Regions from separate parts of the Homo sapiens genome. Here region 2 is linked to region 1. The links are contacts of gene promoters, found by promoter capture Hi-C in blood cells and fetal thymus (Javierre and others, 2016). All regions are on one chromosome and are shown on one strand. The core of a region is centred on a gene start or on the middle of the fragment in contact, and the rest is flanking DNA. Distances in the headings are between cores, read along the strand shown.

The links. The method cuts DNA at HindIII sites, captures the fragments that hold promoters and counts their contacts. A CHiCAGO score of 5 or more calls a contact.
Region 2: a fragment that was not itself captured here is called in contact with the fragment with the promoter of TGFB1I1 in region 1 in 2 of 17 cell types (naive CD8 T cells and non-activated CD4 T cells); the score reaches 6.4 in naive CD8 T cells.

The regions. Positions count from the first base shown.
Region 1 is chr16:31,470,860-31,473,559 of GRCh38, reverse strand. It overlaps TGFB1I1 (transforming growth factor beta 1 induced transcript 1), which reads right to left and starts at 1,408. Exons shown (of 11, transcript NM_001042454.3): 1 at 1,359-1,408; 2 at 4-119. The coding sequence starts at 1,371. RefSeq lists an enhancer at 529-1,069. The HindIII fragment of the contact is 20,246 bases long and covers 1-2,700 here.
Region 2 is chr16:30,939,400-30,942,099 of GRCh38, reverse strand. All of the region lies in intron 7 of FBXL19 (F-box and leucine rich repeat protein 19), which reads right to left. Among named protein-coding and RNA genes, the nearest start is that of ORAI3, 8.3 kb to the left of the region's middle. RefSeq lists a silencer at 1-90. The HindIII fragment of the contact is 714 bases long and covers 951-1,664 here.

The DNA of each region.
Region 1 (2,700 bases), core at 159-2,658:
CACCTGTGGCTGGTGGCCATAGGATGGGGGAGGGGTGAGAGGCTCCGCAGGGCGCTCTTTGGGAGCCCCTGACCTTGGCATGTGCGAGGTGGTAGTCTCCAGGTCAGAGAGCAGGGCATCTGCAGGAAGAGGCCATCAGGGAGAGAGACAAGGGTCACGGTTAGATCAGAAGATAAGGTTCCCAGTGGGCAGTACTGGAGAAGGACAGAAGCCAGTATTAAGAGAAGAGGTCACAGGGCCAGAGCCAGGCAGAGCACTGCTCGAAGGGTAGCAAGGAATATTTATGACCAGAATATCCCAGTTGCTCACGCTTGGAGCCAAGCACAAACCCAGCCTCCTGATTATTTTATTCTCCCCATCTTCTCTGATGCAGTCAAAATGGGCTCTTCACCCAAGCCAAATTTGGCTCCCCTCCAAATTGCTCCATTGGCCCAGTGCCTGGCCCTCAGCTTTCTGATTGGACGCTCTCTCTTCCATGCTGGTTAACTCCTCCCTCTACCTACACAGGCCCCGCCCAGCCTGGCCACTCCCAGGCCCCTGAGTCCCGCCCTGGGCTCCTCACTGGCGCTTCGCTGGGACCTGCCTTCTGATTGGCTGTTTATCTGCGGTACAGCGTCAGTTACCCCTACCGAGCAGCGCCCTCTACCGCCAGGGGCCGGAAGCCCCTCTCTCCCGTGGAGCGCACAGCCTTCCAGCCCCAGGCTTCGCAGGGAGGACGAGATACCTGGGTCCCCCTTCCGGACAAGACACCTCTCTCCATCCCTGCATCCCCAGATCCGGGTCTTTTGAGCCCTTTCACTTCCAGAACCCAGAAGTCCTGCCCTCAGTCTTCGTCTCTGAGCACCCGCGTGAAACCCTGAAGCCTTCGCGGGCGCCTAGGCACTCCTGAGTTACTATTCTCTTCCTTGCCTCAAGGACCTGACCCTCACTGTGCTCAGGAGCCCTTAACTCCTCCTCTCCCAAAACTCTGGTGCAGGCAGGCCCGCTTTTTTTCTCCAAAACTTGATGCCAGACTTTCCCGTGCCCTCTACTTTCCCGGTCCCCGGGCCGAGGCCCCTTTAACCCCTCCCTCCCCAGAGCCCCGCGCCCGGGCGCCCGCGGGCGCCGCACCTCCCGTTCCATCTGCCGCAGCCTGGGATGGAGGAGCACAGCGAGGGAAGAAGGGAGGGAGCGGCCGGCCCAGGAAAGGCAGGAAGGGAGAGGCAGGAAGGGGGACGTGGAGTTGGAAAGGAGGCGCGGGCAGAGGCGAAAAGCAGAAGTAAGAAGACAGGGATGGGGAGATGCGGGAGAGCGACGGCGGGGAGGCAGCTCTGGGCAGCGGTGAGGGGCCACGGACCCGGGGATCCGGCCCCACTCACCCAGGTCCTCCATGGCGGGGCGCGGGCCGGTGGCGCGGGGCGAACAGGGCGGGGGCCGTGTCCGGTGGGGGCGGGGGGCGGGGGACGTCCGGGAGCTGGAAGCCCGGCCGTGACCATGTAAGGAAGCCGGGACCCGCTGAGATGGGGATGGGGGGGCGATGAACGGGGGAACCCGAGGTGGGGGCGTGGAAAGGAGGGAGCGCCCCGGCCCACCCGAGCCCAGCCCGCCGGCCTGCCGCGGAGGCGGCCACACCCCAGCCTTGGCCTCAGCTGCAGGGAGCCCCAGGAGGCCAGAGCCAGAGAGAAGTGGCTTCTCCAGACCAAGCCCCAGAGCCGCTCCCTAGGGAGACTTACAGACACGGACTGAGGCCCCCAAACAGACACCGCTCAAAGCTAGCGCCTGAGTCCTAGACAAGAGCCTCCCTCCCACCCATGCCATTCCTGGGAGACTTGTCCCAGACGGAATTTTTGGATTGGTAGCAGGAGTGATATTCTAAGGCTCAATTAGACCTCAGGTTCGGAGACCCTCCCATCGGAGACCCTGACAGATAAATAGAGGCCCCAAGAGGCATACATACCAGACACAAAGAAATCTGAGGGACGGGGACAGACACAGTGAACCCACCCACAGACTCTACACTAGGACCTTCCCTCCAAGACTTGGTCATGGACACACGTAAACTCGAACCCGGGCGCAAGCCCCTTGCAAATTCGGGGAAAACACTCCCAGGCAACCAACCCCCAGCCAGCCTGCAAGACAAAGCCCTTCCTCAGCACTGAGGTGGCCCAGGCCTGCTCTGAAACAGCCCTTTCCCAAGTTACTGATGAACTCAGAGCAGAAAGCAAGACACAGTCTCCAGCCACAAAGTGGCAAGGCCTTCCCTGGACTGAGACCCTGAGAAACGAGGTGGAAACGAGAGGCCATAGAGGTAGTTATGGACAGACAACTGTGCTGCAGCCACTCTTCTGGACAGATCTGAGCACTGGAATGTGAGTATCAACCCAGCAGCAAATCGGAACAACCTGGGGAGCTTTTTAAAAATGCGAGACAGGCATGGTGGCTCACACCTATAATCCTAGCACTTTGGGAGGTCAAGGCGGGCAGGTCACTTGAGGTCAGGAGTTCGAGACCAGCCTGGCCAACATGACAAAACCCCATCTCTACTAAAAACACAAAATTAGCTGTGCGTGGTGGTGGGAGCCTGTAATTCCAGCTACTTGGGAGGCTGAGACAGGAGAATTGCTTGAAACCTGGAGGCAGAGGCTGCAGTGAGCTGAGATTGTGCCACTGAACTCCTGAGCAACAGAGGAGACCCTGTGTCAAGAATAAAAAAGAAAAAGA
Region 2 (2,700 bases), core at 58-2,557, 530 kb after region 1:
GGAGACAGAGACCTCAGCCCTCAGCTCTCAGCAGCCCACAGTTCCCAGGCTCCCCAGCTCCAAGGGTGCACCCCAGCTCTCTTCTGGCCACACAGACAACAGGGTAGCAAGAAGCACCTGACCTCAGCCAAGAGCACTGGGATTGGAACCCAACTCCATCACTAACTGGAAATGAGACCCTGGGCAAGTCTGTTCCTCTCCCTGAGCCTCAGAAGCCTCGTTTATGATTGAAGGCAATAGCCCCCCCACTCTGCCTGCCCACAGGGCAGCTGTCAGGTCACATGGGCTCATCCCAGCTGTGGGCCTCCCAGCATAGAAAGTGTGCTGCCCAACACATACACAAATGCCACGCATGCTGCCTGATGTCATGCCAAGGGGACTGGTGTTATCCAGTCGTCTCCAGCCACCCTTGGGCTTCTTGATTCCTGACTGAGTTCTGGTGCTCATGGGTCCTTGCCTCCTTTACTCATCTCTGCTTCTGATCCACACCTGTCCCATCTTGACAGCCAGCTGCCCGCAGCTGGACTTACAGCCCTAATATCTTCCCTATTACATTACTGTGTTCCTCCAACTACAATGTAAATTCCACAAGGGCAGATTTGCGTTTTCCACTTTTTGAAAAAAAATTTTTTTTGAGACAGGGTCTCACTCTGTAACCCAGGCTGGACTCAGGCTCACCGCAGCCTCAACCTACTGGGCTCAAGCAATCCTCCCACCTCAGCCTCCTGAGTAGCTGGGACCACAGGCACATGTCACCACGCCTGGCTAATTTTTAAACAATTTTTTTGTAGAGACAGGGTCTCACTATGTTGCCTAGGCTGGTCTTGATCTCCTGGCCTCAAGCGATCCTCCTGCCTTGGCCTCCCAAAACACTGGGATTACAGGCATGAGCTACTGCACCCAGCTGCCCATTTGTAATGAATGAATCAAGCTAGTAACTACTTAAAGCTTCCACTGACCACTCTCCCCCACCTCCTCATCTACAGCATTTCATTTATTCACTCTGATTATAGAAAGCGTTATAGGTCCCAAGTATTGAAGCTACAAAGATGAACGAGTCCTAAGCAACATTAAACAGGTTTCCTAACCCGAGCACTCCACAGGCCTCAACAGACTATCTAACATGCAGTGGGCTGGGTGCAGTGGCTCACACCTGTAATCCCAGCACTTTGGGAGGCCGAGGTGGGTGGATCATGAGGTCAGGAATTCGAGAACAGCCTGGCTGTTCTACTAGTGAAACCCTGTCTCTACTAAAAGTACAAAAAATTAGCTGGGCATGGTGGCGGGCGCCTGTAATCCTAGCTACTCGGGAGGCTGAGGCAGGAGAATTACTTGAACCCGGGAGGCGGAGATTGCAGCGAGCCGAGATCGCACCACTGCACACCAGCTGGGGCAACAGTGAGAGACTCCATCTCAAAAACAAACAAACAAACAAACAAACAAAAAACATGCAGTGAACTGGAGAAGGGCCTCTCAAACGTACTTCCCCAGGAATCCTTCCCCACCTCTCCCAAGGTAATCTAGTAACATTTTGTAGTACACTGAAGTTCCTTTGGACTCAGTTTGAGAACTCTCTTCTCTGAGTTCAGTAGTTCTCAAAGGCATGTCCAGAAATGCCTCTGAGACTCAATAGACTGTGTCAGAAGCAGCAGGCCCAGGAAGCTTTTTTTTTTTTTTCTTGAGACAGTGTCTTGCTTAGTCACCCAGGCTGGGGTGCAGTACTGCGATCACAGCTCACTGCAACCTTAAACTCCTGGGCTCAAGCCATCCTCCTACCTCAGCCTCCTGAGTAGCTGGGACTACAGGCACATGCCACCACACCTGACTTTTTTTTTTTTTTTGAGACAGAGTTTCGCTCTTGTTGCCCAGGCTGGAGTGCAATGGTGTGATCTTGGCTCACTGAAACCACCATCTCCCAAGTTCAAGCGATTCTCCCGCCTCAGCCTCCAGAGTAGCTGGGATTACAGGCATGCGCCACCACGCCCGGCTAATTTTTTGTATTTTTAGTAGAGATAGGGTTTCTCCATGTTGGCCAGGCTGGTCTCGAAATCCTGACCTCAGGTGATCTGCCCACTTTGGCCTCCCATAGTGCTGGGATTACAGGCGTGAGCCACTGTGCCTGGCCTATTTTTTTATTTTTAGTAGAGACAAGGTTGTCCAGGCTGGTTTTGAACTCCTGAGCTCAAGCGATCCTTCCCTTGGCCTCCCAAGGGAAGCTTTCTCTTGCCTCCCTCCCTGCCCTCATGACTCTGAAAGGCTTTTCCTTGTAGAAGCCCTGGGCTGGGGCAGTGATTCCCAAGCTCCAGTATTTGCTGTTCACTTATCTGCGTAACATGATTTATCTTTGAATCATCTCCTCTTTGCACTTAAAACCAGTATTGTTGCCGGGCGCGGTGGCTCATGCGTGTAATCCCAGCACTTTGGGAGGCCGAGGTGGGTGGATCACTAGGTCAGGAGATCAAGACCATCCAGGCTAACACAGTGAAACCCCGTCTCTACTAAAAAAAAAATACAAAAAATTAGCTGGGCGTGGTGGAGGGCGCCTGTAGTCCCAGATACTCGGGAGGCTGAGGCAGGAGAATGGCGTGAATCTGGGAGGTGGAGCTTGCAGTGAGCCGAGATCGTGCCACTGCACTCCAGCCTGGGCGACAGAGCGAGACTCCGTCTCAAAAAAAAAACAAAAAAAAAAACCCCAGTATT